3 separate regions of the Homo sapiens genome follow, and all the other regions are linked to region 2. The links are contacts of gene promoters, found by promoter capture Hi-C in blood cells and fetal thymus (Javierre and others, 2016). All regions are on one chromosome and are shown on one strand. Each heading gives the region's core, a stretch centred on a gene start or on the middle of the fragment in contact. The rest is flanking DNA. Distances are from core to core; before and after follow the strand shown.

What was found. The method cuts DNA at HindIII sites, captures the fragments that hold promoters and counts their contacts. A CHiCAGO score of 5 or more calls a contact.
Region 1: a contact is called between a fragment that was not itself captured here and the fragment with the promoter of GPATCH2 in region 2, in 1 of 17 cell types (monocytes). The highest score is 5.4, in monocytes.
Region 3: a contact is called between a fragment that was not itself captured here and the fragment with the promoter of GPATCH2 in region 2, in 1 of 17 cell types (erythroblasts). The highest score is 9.9, in erythroblasts.

Annotation. Positions count from the first base shown.
Region 1 is chr1:219,087,194-219,092,079 of GRCh38, reverse strand. All of the region lies in intron 3 of LYPLAL1-DT (LYPLAL1 divergent transcript), which reads left to right. Among named protein-coding and RNA genes, the nearest start is that of LYPLAL1-DT, 84 kb to the left of the region's middle. RefSeq lists an enhancer at 2,809-2,858. The HindIII fragment of the contact is 1,926 bases long and covers 521-2,446 here.
Region 2 is chr1:217,629,469-217,634,410 of GRCh38, reverse strand. It overlaps GPATCH2 (G-patch domain containing 2), which reads left to right and starts at 3,321. Exons shown (of 10, transcript NM_018040.5): 1 at 3,321-3,495. The coding sequence starts at 3,440. It overlaps SPATA17 (spermatogenesis associated 17), which reads right to left and starts at 3,067. Exons shown (of 11, transcript NM_138796.4): 1 at 2,965-3,067. The coding sequence starts at 3,032. RefSeq lists enhancers at 3,043-3,282, 3,313-3,382. The HindIII fragment of the contact is 9,292 bases long and covers 1-3,744 here.
Region 3 is chr1:216,598,364-216,603,177 of GRCh38, reverse strand. The region is part of intron 3 of ESRRG (estrogen related receptor gamma); the gene reads left to right. Among named protein-coding and RNA genes, the nearest start is that of ESRRG, 120 kb to the left of the region's middle. RefSeq lists enhancers at 1,679-1,778, 2,159-2,258, 2,104-2,672, 4,214-4,814 and a silencer at 1,879-2,058. The HindIII fragment of the contact is 2,981 bases long and covers 836-3,816 here.

The sequences.
Region 1 (4,886 bases), core at 234-2,733, 1.5 Mb before region 2:
GGCTTTGGGTCTCTGATTTTTCTTTACTGGGATACTTTTTAATATGGTGTTGAACTCATTACTTGTTATTGGTCTATTTAGATTTTGGAAATCTTCATGATTCGGTCTTGGTAGGTTGTATGTGTCTAGGATTCAATCTATTTCTTCTAGGTTTTCCAATTTACTGGCATGTAGTTGCTCATAGTAGTCTCTAATGATTCTCTGAACTGCAGTATCAGTTGTAATACCTCCTTTTTATCTCTCATTTTATTTATTTGGGTCTTCTATCTTTATGTCTTTGGCTAAATGTTTATCAATTTTATTTTTTTAAAATAAGCCACCTTTTTGTTTAATTGATATTTTGTATTGTTTGTTTTGTTTCAATTTCATTTATTTCTGCTTTGATCTTTATTATTTCTTTTCTCCTACTAATATTGGCTTTGGTTTGCTCTTTGTTTTCTAGTTCTTTAAGATGCATCATTAGGTTGTTAATTTGAGGATTATCTGCTTTTTTGATGTGGAGTGCTTATTGCTATAAGCTTTCTTCTTAGTATTGCTTTTGCTGCATTCCATAGGTTTTGATATATTGTGTTTCCATTTTTGTTTGTTTCAAGGAATTTTTAAATTTTATTCTTAATTTCTTCATTGACCCACTGGTCACTCTAGAGCATATTGTTTATTTTCCATGTGTTTGTATAGTTTCTGATATTTTTCTAATTATTTATTTCTAGTTTTATTCCATTGAGAATAAAACTGGAAAGATGAGACACTTGATATTTTTTCAATTTTTTAATTTTTTAAGACTTGTTTTTTGTTCTAACATGTGATCTATCCTTAAGAATGAGCCATGCCTTGAGGAGAAGAACGTGTATTCTGCAGCTCTTAAATGAAAGATTGTGTAAATATATATTAGGTCCATTTGGTATATAATGTAGATTAAGTCCAATGTTGTTGTTGGTGGTGGTTTTCTGTGTAGTGGTTCTGTCCAATGCTGAAAGTGGGGTGTTGAAGTCTCCAGCTAATATTGTATTAGGGTCTATCTCTCTCTTTAGCTCTAATAATATTTACTTAATATGTTTGAGTGTTCCAGTGTTGAATGTATATATATTTACAAGTGTTACACCCTCTTGCTAAGTTGACTTCTTTATCATTATATAATGACCTTCTTTGTCTCTGTTTATAGTTTTTGTTTTGAAATCTATTTTGTCTGATGTAAATATAGCTACTTCTGCTTTTTTTGTTTCCATTTTCATGCAATATTTTTCAGTTCCTATATTTTAAGTCTAAGTTAGTCTTTATAAGTGAAGCGTGTTTCTTATAGTTACCAGATTGTTAGAGCTTGTTTTTTTATTATTGTTATTGTTCAGGCTCTCTATGTCTTGTGATTGGAGAGTTTAGTCCATTTACATTCAATGTTATTATTAGTAAGTAAGGACTTACTACTGCCATTTTGTTATTTGTTTTCTGGGTGTTTTATGTGTGCTCTTCTCTTTCTTCCTTCCTTCTTCCCTGTATTCCTTTTTGGGAAGTTAATTTTTTTTGGTGGGTTGTTTTAATTTACTGATTTTCAGTTTTTTGTGTATCTGTTGTAGGTTTTATGATTTGAGGTGACCATGAGGTTTGGAAATAACATCTTAGAACTCATTATTTTAAACTGATCACAACTTAGCACTGGATACAAAACAATCCAAACTCACAACAACGAAAGAGAAAACTAATAAAAGCTCTACACTTTAACTTAATCCCCCTGCTTTCTAACTTTTTGTTGCTTCCATCTACGTTTTATTATACTATGTCTTAAAAGTTGTAGTTATTATTTTTGATAGGTTTATCTTTTAGTCTTCGTATTCAAGATATCAATAGTTCACGTACCACAATTACAGTGTTATAATATTGTGTGTTTGTTTGTGTACTTACTATTACCAGTGAGTTTTGTACCTTCAGATGACTTCCTATTGCTCATTAGTGTCCTTTCATTTTAGATTGAACAGCTCCCTTTAGCATTTCTTGTAGGGCAGTTCTGGTGTTGATGAAATCCCTCAGCTTTTGTTTGTCTGGGAAAGCCTATTTCTTCTTCATGTTTAATGGGTATTTTCACTGGGTGTACTCTTCTAGGATAAAAGTCTTTTTTCCTTCAGCACTTTAAATATGTAATGCCACTCTCTCCTAGATTGTAAGGTATGTTATTTGTGTCTTTTCTCTTGCTGCTTTTAGAATCCTTTCTTTATCCTTGACCTTTGGAAGTTTGATTATTAAATGTCTTGAGGTAGTTTTATTTGGATGAAATCTACTTGATGTTCTACAACCCATCTATACTTGAATTTTGATATATTTCTCTAGGTTTGAAAAGTTATCTGTTATTATCTCTTTGAATAAAATTTATACCTTGATCTCTGTACCTCCTCTTTAAGGCCAGTAAATCTTAATTTGCCCTTTTGAGATATTTTCTAGAACTTATAGGCAAGCTTCATTCTTTTCTATTCTTTTGTTTCTTTTGACTGTGTATTTTCAAATAGCCTGATTCTTTCTTCTGCTTGATCAGTTCTGCTGTTGGGAGACTCTGATGCATTCTTCTGTATGTCAATTCAATTTTTCAGCTCAGAATTTCTACATGTTTCAAAAATTATTTCAGTATCTTCGTTAAATTTATCTGATAGGATTCTGAATTCCTTCTCTGTGTTATCTTAAATTTCATTGAGCTTCCTCAAAATTTCTATTTTGAATTTTCTGTCACTCTTGGATTGATCAGTGGTGACTTTTTCAGTTTGTTTAGTGAGGTCATGATTTCCTGAATGGTCCTGATGCTTTTGGATGTTTGTGAGTGTCTGGGCATTGAATAGTTAGATATTTATTGTAATATTTGCAGTCTGCACTTGCTTGTACTCCTCTTGTGGAGGGGTGATGCAAGCTCCACTGTGACTACCACACTGAGACTGTGCTGAGTCACACCCAAAGATAGCACAGCACTGGGTCTTGCTCAAGACCCATGGTGACCACTGCCTAGTTACTGCCAGCGGAAGGAAGGAGTCTCCCCCAGGTTACTGAGCTGCACTGCCTGGGTTGGGGGAGGGGTGATGCAAGCACTCCCTTGTCCACCTGGCTGGTGTCTCATTAGGTCAACCCAAGTCTACTGCCTTCTAGCCCAGCACGCACCAAGACTTGCCCAGGAATTGCAGTCCTTGTCGCCTAGACTGCCTTTGAGGTTTATGTAGTATCCCAGAGTGCTTTGGCCCATGGTAGTGGGGCTAGCCAGAACTCTAGTTCCAACCACTGGGAAGGGCAATTCCTCTCTTGCTGGGACGGATATAAGGACTCCCTCCATGGGCACTGGCTGAGTTCTGCCTTATCTTGTTTTCTACTGTGGCTGGGCTGCACTGAGTTCCAATGCAAAGTCCCACATCACTGCACTCTCTCCCCCACAAGAACACAGATCCTCTCCGCAGCATCAGCAATTCAAGACTATCTTTCCTAACCTCTTCAATGCCTCTTTCTTTGATATGATGTTAGAACCTGGTACTGTGATCACTCACTTGATTTTTGGTTCTCATAAAAGTGCTTTCTTGTGTGGATAGTTGTTCGATTTAGTGTTCCTGTAGGGGGACTATTGTTGGAGAGTTCTATTAGGCCAACCTGCTCTGTGTCTTCCCCTATAGTTTCTTTTTGACTCAGTTACATTCAAATTTATTTTTTACACTTTATAGAAATATTAGGGAGGTTAAAATTTATCCTTTATTTACTGAGCTCTAATTTAACAGAATTGAAATTGTGGTCAGAGAATGTATTATGTTTGACACTAAGTCTTTGAAATTTATTGAGATTTGCTTTAAAGCCTAGTGATATGCTTAATATCCCATTCTATTCCTATGTGGAGGAATCATAAGGTGAGAGACAGACCCTCTCTTTCAATATGTAGCACAAGGGTTCTTATTTATCCTCTGGACAATAGCATACAGATACATGTCTCAAGTTTATCTAGTAAGATTCTCTTGCCTGTAGCTTTGAATAATGAGGGTTAGAGATTTTTCCCAGCCAATGTGGAAGGTTTGAGAGACTACTGGTGTGGCAGCAAGAATCCAGTAGCAGCAGTATCAATTCCTATGTCCTAAGCAGACTTCAGGCTCATAACCTGCTTTCCTTATTTTTCTGCCAGAGTCTAATTCTCAACTGTTGATTAATTCTCTAAGTTATTGATATCTTGCCAATACATTCCTTTTCTGATTAATGTAACCAAAGTCAGTTTCTGTTGCTTAGAACTCAGAATTCTGACAACTGTGAAACACAATGCTTCTGAGGGAATTACAGCATATTACTTTTTGCTTTATTTTATTTAATCTTCTGTTTCTCTCCTCAGGAAGTGTTATTTATTATCCTCATTTAACAGATAGGAAAACTGGGGATTCAATATTTGAAGCACTTTATTCAATACCACACAGCCTGTAAAGTGTGAAACCAGAATTCAAGCCAGCTCTGCCTGATTCTTGAACTGCTACTCTTTAAGCCTTCCAGATATTCAATGGGTGATTTTAAACCTTTCTTTCTGACCCTAATATTCTATGAACTGAAGAATAAATACAGATTGCCAAGTATAAATCAGGAATAGCTTAGGTACTGAGAGGTCAAACTCTAGAAGCCACAAATATTCATATATTCTTAAGTTTTAATTGAGAAAAGTACTTCTCCTAGGCTTTTTACTTCATATACTCTGTGAGATGAATTTTTAGAAACTGACCTTCTCTTATTCACTGCCCCAACTCTGCAAATTTGCCACACGTGCCTTGGCAACATGAACCACCATAACACAGAGGGGCTGGTGACTTAACATACTTTGTCATCCCCCTGGCATAACAGAGGGGTTCTTTTAGGTCATGGGCCACTTTTCTTCTTGTAGGTTTATTGAAAGTTTGTGT
Region 2 (4,942 bases), core at 2,072-4,571:
TTCCACCCTCTATGATTTCATCTCTGACCCAACCAATCAGCCCTCCTGACTCACTGGCCTCACACTAACCCATCAAATCATACTTAAAAACTCTGATCCCCTAATGCTCAGGGAGACAGATTTCAGTAACAATAAAACTCTGGTCTCCCACACAACCGGGTCTGTGTGAATTATTCTTTCTTTATTGCAATTGCCGTCTTGATAAATTGGCTCTGTCTAGGCAACAGGCAAGGTGAACCCACTGGGAAGTTACAACAACTGCCTACTATCTTTTGTTCACCTTATGTCCAGGACAAAATTTTCAGTCTCTTTGATGGGCTGGCCAAAACATAAACACACACCAAACATTCCCTGTGGGAGCAACTTTCCAGAGTATTATGTCAGTCGGGCAACCCACACTCCTCCTATTCTTTGTAGTTCAAAATCTCCTCCTGTATTTGCTGCTCACTTCTTGGAGTTCCAGATCCTTCCTCTTTGTTAGGCAGAGGAGCTTCTCGTTTCCACATTGGACTTCCAGGCCTCACAGGACTCAGATACTAACCTAAACACTTAGGAATGTATTTTCTCAACCAAGTCATCTTTCAGCTTCAGCGTTATTCTGATGCTAGCCATTAGGAAGAAGCCTTTTTGTCCGTACCTTGTTACGAAAACAGAAGACATTGAAAGAAACCAAGGAGACTTTAAATTGTTTCCCACAACTCTGTTCCCTACATGTTAACGGATTTGGGACAGTACACTCAAGCCATTTGGACCTCTGGATCTTGGTGCTTGTTGCAATTTAATTAAATCAGCTTAATGGGAAGAAAATTTTGTTTAGTGACAGTGAACAGCGGAGGTTTTAGAGTTAGATTAGTTGGCTCTGATAATTCATAATTGACCTCAAGACATCCGCCTGCCCTGGCCTCCCAACGTGCTGGGATTACAGGCCTGAGCCACTGTGCCTGGCCAATTAATTGTTTGTTTGGCACTTCATCAGGCTTTTCTAGAACATTGTTCTATAGCTCTAAAAATATAGATTATCTAATAAATAGATAATTTCTACATTAACTTATAACATTGTGATAACCAAGTGAAATATCATATGTAGTTGTTCCTGGTGCAATCCCTCATATATAATCAGTCCTCAAAAAATACTGGTTGTTTCCCTTTCTGTCCATGTTACTCTATTGTTGTTATTATTTATTTATTTATTTATTTATTTATTTATTTATTTGAGACAGAGTCTTGCTCTGTCGCCCAGGCTGGAGTGCAGTATTGCGATCTCGGCTCACTACAACCTCTGCCTCCTGGGTTCAACTGATTCTCTTGCCTCAGCTTCCAGAGTAGCTGGGACTACAGGCGTGCACCACCATGCCTGGCTGATTTTTGTAATTTTAGGAGAGACAGGGTTTTGCCATGTTGGCCAGTCTGGTCTGGAACTTCTGCCCTCAAGTGATCCATCTGCCTCTGCCTCCCAAAGTGCTGGGATTACAGGCATGAGCCACTGAGCCCAGCTAGTATTGTAATTATTTTTTAAAAGCCTATATTCCATACAAGGATGTGAACATCATGATGGATGGGGCTTATTTCATTTATATATGTCATAAATACAGCACCTGCCACATACTCTAAATAAATAGATAATTTCTATGTTTAGCTATTGTTAGTATGTTTACTTAAACCAGGGCTACAGATTTATTGAAAAATTCATTAATGTGAGTCTTCAACAATTATTGTGTTACTATTATTTGTATGGGGCTATCATAGACGTTGGAGACAAAAATAATGGTGAGCAAAATAAGAGACACTGTCTCTGCTACTAGTTTAAGAGGGGAGATAGATATTATCTCATAAAAGAATGTAAAATTGAATTGTGATCAGTGCTGTAAGAGAGGTACGTTGTGAAATAATGATGTAGTAGGTGAGATAAACGTTAGAATAAAAGCAGCTCAGCAAGACCCTATCTCATTGACATATTTTCCATTGGTCTGTCATGTCACTGTATTCCATAATAGTCTAATTCACTTTTTTGCAGTTTCTTTTAAGTTACAAAAACTCCTGGGGCAATGCTTCTTTAAAATGAAACTCTTCCTGGGCAAGAAGTTTGGCTGTAGGGAGATGAAGAAGACTGCTAGTGGTTTTCTTACCCGTTATCTATTAATTAATATATTGGTACTAGTTACCGTGTCAGAATGGTTTAGACACTTTCATTTTATTTTATTTTATTTATATTTATTTATTTATTTATTGAGACAGGGTCTTAATTTGTCACCCAGGCTGGAGTGCAGTGGTACAATGTCGGGTCACTGCAACCTCTGCCTCCCAGGTTCAAGCGATTCTCCTGCCTCAGCCTCCGGACTAGCTGGGATGACAGGCATGTGCCACCATGCCCGGCTAGTTTTTGTATTTTTAATAGAGACGGGGTTTCACCATGTTGTCCTGGTTGGTCTAGAACTCCTGGCCTCAGGTGATTCGCCCCCCTCGGCCTCCCAAAGTGCTGGGATTACAGGCGTGAGCCACCACACCCGGCAGATACGTTCATTTTAAAAAGGCGAATGAGTCATAGAACAATTGAGTTTAGTGATGTTTGTAAAATAACGGAGGCTCAAATCCCTAGGTAGATGGGACACAATCTGAGTTCATTGGGCTAGTGAGTCAGGGTGACCCCCAGTCAGGGTATTGAACATAGGTTTCATCAAATTGCAGAGTGGTGATGTCGAAGAAAAAAAGCACTTTACAATTTTATCTATGCTGGGAGTTTCCTTAAATCATCTCACACTGAATATCTACGGCCCCTCTCTATTTAGAATTTCGTTGTATGGTAACAGAAACTCCCAATTATGTTTGCAGCCCATTAAGGGAAGAATTGGGTACTACTTAATGAATTAGGGTAATCGTTAAATCGTTAATTGGAAACTCCCGCTGAGGAACAACTGGTATAAAGTCACGCCCGCCCTTTACGCGATCCTTCTCTTCCTGACTTACCTGTTCCTAAAGTAGTACTGATTTCCTACAGTCGACGACCTAGCTTGCAGCCGGGCTAACGTGGCCATGGTCTCTTGGCCTTGGGTTTACAACTGGTGTTACTACCGGTCTCCATGGTAACTGGGCTAAACCATAGCTCACTCCCGGGGTTCGACTTTTTGTTCACTCCTCTTTTCTCTCATGCTGCTTTGACTTTAAGAGCACTAAAAAGAGAATTAAGAAATTTCTGTGTAGCACAAAAGTTTAATTTATTTGTCTCTGTCTCTACTGCGAGTAGGAAGAGGGGATTATAGGAAGGGGAAAGCAGTAAACGCGGAGAACTAATGGTTGCTCCGGGCATCCGGTTTCCGCCGCCTGTCGGCTTCCGGAAGCTCATCTCAAAATGCTGAACTGCTCTTTGGAAGTCGCCGGTGCTGTTGTAGTTGGAGTCTGTTCACGGGCCTGAGCTTCGAGGCCAGGCTCCCGGGTGTCGTTAATGTTCGGGGCCGCCGGGCGCCAACCGATCGGAGCTCCAGCAGCCGGGAACAGCTGGTGAGGCTGGCGGCCCTGGGGAGGGGGAGGTCAGGGAAGGGTGTGATTGCCCGAGGCCGCTCCGCTGGACCTGGAATGGAGGCGGGAGGGAGCTGTGATGGATGATCTGAAGACATCTAGGCCTTGCTCTCACTCATTCCTGGGATGCACGCAGTTTGAGGGAGCTCTTGGGTGTGTGCCAAAGATTTGTGAAAGAATACAGTAAATGTTTTCTGATTGCTTGTTTAACAATATTTTAGAAGTCAAGCTTCCTGTACTCCAGGAGCAATTCATCTCCTCATTGATTGTTGACAACACTAGGGACAGGAAGAATTTATCTTAATCCGGGCCTTATTCCCCACTCCTCTTTCAATATTTACCAGATTATACCAAGTCTTTTGGAAGATAAATTCCAGAAATCTAGAGTTCTGGAAGTTCAATCGTGGAAAACACATCACCCTCTCACCCCCTTTTTTAAAGAGAGAGGGTAACCTACCTGTTTCCACCCTCTTGAACATTCTATTCAAGTTAAAGTGAGATATGTATGGGGGCTTTCCAAGAACCTATAACTGTCAGGATTAAGTTTGGGGCTTGACTATGTCTATGGTATCATGTTAGAATAATATATTGCTTTGACTTTTCAAAGTATTTCCACAAATTAATACACTTTATCCTATGACAGCCTTGTGATAGCAGAATATCACAAGCACAGAAAATTCAAGTACCGTGTCCAAAGTTGCCCTGTACATTTTAATCCTAGAGCTAGAATCCTGATTTGGGGATTTCTAGTTGAACACTCTGTATTATCTGTCCTGTTTTTCTCCCAAGCCCTTTTCCTCCAAACATAACATAAGACAACCAGTGACACAAACAAGCAATTTCCCATTGAAAATCCTCAAACATAAAGTTCTGACCAACAGGTGAAAGAAATGTGGCTAAATGGTGCGTGTTCATTCCTAGATTCTGCAAAAATTAGAACATGAGGAATTCTAGTAGTCTGTGATCTCAGATAATTGCTTTTCCATCACCTATCACTGAAAAGTTAAAAGAATACCTTATCCAAAATATTTCTAGTTGGACCTGATCATCCTGTAGTTAATTTTATAGTGAATATAGATTTGATTATACTATTTGTAAATTATTACATTTTCCAGTGAGAAAAGTAGGGAGCATTTTTTAAATGAACCAGTTTTTAATGGTATAACTAGCATAGAATGAAATGCACAATTTTTACAGGCTTAATTTTATTAGTTTTGGCAATTGCATATACTTATGTAAACACCACACAAAACAAGATAATGGATTTGTCCATCACCCCACAGTTCCCTCTCAAGGATACCTGTCTTAATGTTTCACTGTTCATTATCTTGGTTAAGTCAGGGAGACAAAATGTCCTATGTAGATTGGTCTGCTCTTCCTAGGGTGCTATTGATTTGTAGGGTAGGTGACTACATCAGAATGTGATTGA
Region 3 (4,814 bases), core at 1,077-3,576, 1.0 Mb after region 2:
TCATTCAAAAATGTCATTTCAGCATCTTTAATCATTAAAATGGGATTTTTTGTAATATCAAATATAAAATCAAGAAAATTAATGTGGTATTCTGATCAGTGTAGATAGCAACTAAATTCAGTAATTCAAGTAAAAAGATAATGCTTTAAGATCTCTATTATTAGATTTTGCTATCTATAGCAATTGAATTAAAAGAGTCTCTCCATCTATATAGATGGGGCTATATAGATGTAGTTTAACACTAAGTTATAATACAGCTGAAAAACTGTTTTGTCTTAGTTTTCTTCATGTAGACAATGAAAACAATGTCAGATTATTGATCAAGTATTAATTTAAAGACTAAATTAATTTATAGCCAATTTGCATTTATTTTCTGAACATTGAGCTTGTGGAAAATCATTTCAGTGTTCGGTTAAACTGTGAAGATGTTGCTTGGCTAGGCAATTCATTGTATCATTATTTTGAAAACATAGTTCATAGTAATATATAGTGTATGTCAGGGAAATTCTTGTGAAATTTTAGAATAATCCTTGCAGATCTTCTCTCCGCTGCACAATCACCAATCCACTTGGGAACATTTAACTCAGAATAGATAATCCGGGGAGCTTGGTGTTAAAATGGCCAAAGTGTTCCAGGTCAGGCTGGGGATTAAACTGACACAATAGTTCATGGAAAAATTCTATTAGCACCTGTTACAGTTGGCCCTAGTTCTGATTTTCTTATCTCAGTCTTATTGTTTGAAAAATGTAAAGAAACAGATTATACTTGGTATTGATGAATCTTTGCCTTCACAAACAACATTTTATTTTTCGCATTATGTTTTGTATCAAAAGCTTGTTACATGTATGTACCTAGAACAGTCACAAAGTCTTTCAGGCTCATGACAAGTGAGGGTGTGTGACCCTTTAGCCTCTTCTAGTAAATGTAATGGAAGAGGAACCATGTACAACATAGTTACTCCTCAGTGATTCTACAAAATCCCTGAAAATTTTGAAAGCTGCCTTTACTACGGCACTTTCTTTGCTAATGGGGATAATACCCCTAACTGTGTGTGATATAACAACTATATTTAAAATTGAGGAATTTAAGTAGAACACAGAAAGGCTAGGATTTACTCAGACATTCCATACATTTTTATCCAATGCTTATTTCCTAGCTGTGTGATCTTGGGCAAGTCATTCAACCATTTTAAGCCTTCACTTTGTTGTTGTTAATTAAGAGGATTTTAATAACGCTCCCAAAGGCCCTATCGGTTGTAGGGCTTTGAATGGATTTCAGTGTTTAAAGATAAGTAGGGTACTTTTTAAAAATTCCAGAATGTTACAAAGTATATTATAGAAAGCCTGGCAGATAACCAATAATAATTAAGGAGCTATAAACATAATACTCTTTTTTGAACTTGATGCAAGCCCCTTCATCTATGCCTTTATTTCTCTTTCTAAATCTTAAGTAACATCTGCCTCCTGTTGTGATTAATGAAATAATATTCCAACTTGTGGGCAAGAGGGGAGTGGGTCCAACAGCTCTTGCAAGGGACCTGGGAAATACGCCACTGAAAAGAACGCAACTTGTACGAAATAGGTAAATCCCAAAGCCACCACATTTCTGCCCTGATTAAGGGCACCCCCTTGCTTATTCACTTTGAAGTCTTCTTCCTCTGTCATAACCAAGACAACTCGCGACAAGGAATCCTCTTCAGGAAATGTGTTAAGTCTTATCCGCACTTGTGTCTCTGATGCGCTCCCTCCAGCTTTCTTTTCTAGGATGCTTGGAGCCCCCCTCCTTCGCGGCGTTGGAGCGGGCTTTGGTTTCTGTTTGAAGCCCGGCGTCGGCTCCGGACGCGCGCAGCGCCCTCCGCGGTGGCTCCCAGGAAGTCCCTGGGAGTCTGCGGAGGGAGCCCCTGGGAGGCCCAGGGGTGGGCGCGGTCCGACGGCCGGGTGTCCTTCACGGGGCGTCCTTTCCACCCAGCTGTCCATGGAGCGAGCAGAGCCCCTGGCCGAGCGCCCGCCCGGGAGCCCGGGGCAGCCTGCGGGTGGCAGTGGGCAGGAGCCCGCGTTCCAAGCCGGCCTTGCTCCCCAACCCGCTGCTGCCGCCCGCGCTGCCGGGCTTCCTAGGCCTCCGCGAGGGCCTCAGCAACCCACGGGAGCCCAATCCAGGCAGAGAACCGGGGAGGAACGCCGAAGCAGCTCTTTCTCCCTCATAATTTGAGATGCTATTTTATCATCAACAGTCTGTGTTCAGACAGGAAAGATTGGGCTGAATAAATGTGTCCGGGAAACAGGATGCAGCCTGCGTCCAACCAGAGCGCGGCGGTTGTGTCCTGTGACCCGCTGTGAGGCTGATCATTCTGCATTGTTTACTCTTGTGCGTACATTTCAAAACACGGAATTACATCCGGAAATCTGGGTGAAAACGACATGGTCCCTAATTGTAAAGTTTTTTCACAGGACTTCAGATAAATGCAGTCATCTGTATACCTCAAGAGTGGATTTATTTATTTGGGATTTTTTTTTAAGACTTTATTTTTAAAATAACTAATGGGTACTAGGCTTAATACCTGGGTGATGAAATAACCTGCACAGCAAACCCACATGACACAATTTTACCCATGGAACAAGCTGCACATGTACCCCTGAACTTAAAAGTTAAAAAACAAAACAAAACAAAAACCCAGCACTTTTAGGCTGACAGCAAAATTGAGCAAAAAGTACAGAGTTAATATCCCCTGACCCGCCCCCCTTCATCCATACCCTCCCTCATTATCAACATTTCCCAGTAGACTGGTACATTTGTTAACAATCGATGAATCCGCATGGATACGTCATTATTACCCAAAGAAGTCCATAGTTTATGTGGGGGTTCACTCTTGGTGTTATACATTCTGTGGGTTTTGACAAATGTATAATGACACGTATCTACCATTATAGTATTACATAGAATGGTTTCAGTGTCCTAAAAATCCTCTCTGCTCTGCCTAGTCACCCTTCCCTTCCCCAACCCCCGGCCAAAATGGATTTAAAAGAAAAATAACGTATCAGACCAGAAGTTTCTCCCTAATTAGTTGCTTGTTTTCCTCATGGACTGCTTCCGGCTCCTAGAGAAGACATCATAGCATGAAGCATTCTTGCACGGTTTAGGTTTTGTTAACAGGGGCTATTAGTGTGTGTGACTTCTTAATCCCCCTTCTGCTGAGGGGCATCTCCAGCCCAGTTTTAATTAACAGGGAAATGCTCATATTATTTTGGTACACTGATTATAGGCGAAGCCTAAGTGGAAGTCACTTTGGTGTCCCAAGGGATTTCCGTGTTAAAAATGCATAGGGTACCTTTTTCTTCTCTTTCTTTTTTTTTTTTTCCTGTTAATTCTCCTCCTCCATGAACTCCAGATAAGCAGCAGGCCCGAGCCAGATTTCATTACTATCACGCACTCTTCATGGTCATCTTTTAATATTTGAAAGGATCATTTGTTAACTGGAAATGGTCAATTTTTTTTTCTTTGGCTTTTGAAATATAATTTTCAATTTTTAATTTGATTCATTTAGATGAAATCATTAATCAGGGTTGAAACTGAGTTAATTTTCTGGAAAATAAATGAGGTTGTTAGAGTGAACATTATTAAGTGGGCTCTTTGTAAGAAAGGGATAATAGCTGAAAATATGGAATACTTGGAGAACTGTAGCACTTGGGTAAAAATCGAAAGGATTTTTTTTCCTTGTTAAGTGGAATAATTCATTTTCAAAATTAGATCAGAGGATTTTTAGCATTAAGCATAATAAACACCCCATTAATTATATTAGAAATTGTAAATAGCAAAGCTTCAAGAAATTGTAAGGAAAGTACACTGTGTAAAGTTCTTCTTGTTGTGAGATGTTAGGACATATACTTTCTGATGTGGTTTTACTTTTTCTTTTGAAATGACTTGTGAACCAGTACTAGCTTTGGTATATTTCATCTCTTGTGTCTCTGGTTAAATTTTCAAGATCTTTAATTGTGGGTTGATTATAAAATAAATCAGAAAAAATTTATTGGAACCCCCTATGAATATCTAAACCTCTAATATTTTTCATTTTCTGACACTTTGCAATCTGATTTGCAACCAATCTCCTTCAGATAATCTTCTTTTTTAACTACATGTACCATACCCATAACTTCACCTAAGTTCCCAGATCCCTCTTGCACTCAAGCATTCAATTTATAACATATTATTTTAAATATTGATTATTTAATATTTCTTTCTATAGGTATGTTTTCTTCCTTACCTAGATTTCAAAAGCTTTGAGTGTCAGAATTGTGTCTTTGTATACCATATGCTCTTCTCTGCACACAGTAGGCATTAAATTAATTCTTTTTGACTGACTGACTCAGTGAATTATGGGAAACTGATGAGGTATACAAATAGCTTAGAAGCAAACCCAGATCCCAGACCATATCAAGCCTCTTTTTTTTTTCCAGCCAAACCTGGATCAAGTTTTAGCCATTAAAGAAGAAAGCATATTTCACTGACTTGCTGTGAGAGCACAGCATGACTTTAAGTGATTAGGATGGTGAGCAAAATACCCTTCCCAAGAAAACAAAGAAAGCTGAGATTTGGCCAGACATCCAGCCACCTCAATTCACCATTTAAGTAAGATGCAGGTCACTGGAGAATTCCCTGCTCATTGTTGCTTCTAATTGTTGCCTCCATTTTTTCATTTCTTACAGTCTCACAAGGTGGGTTGTTCCATATGAACAATTTCTTTCAGCGATTTTTGTTGAATATTCTATATAGAGAAGTTCCCATTAATGCAGTTCAAGAGATTTTTATTGGCACTCCCA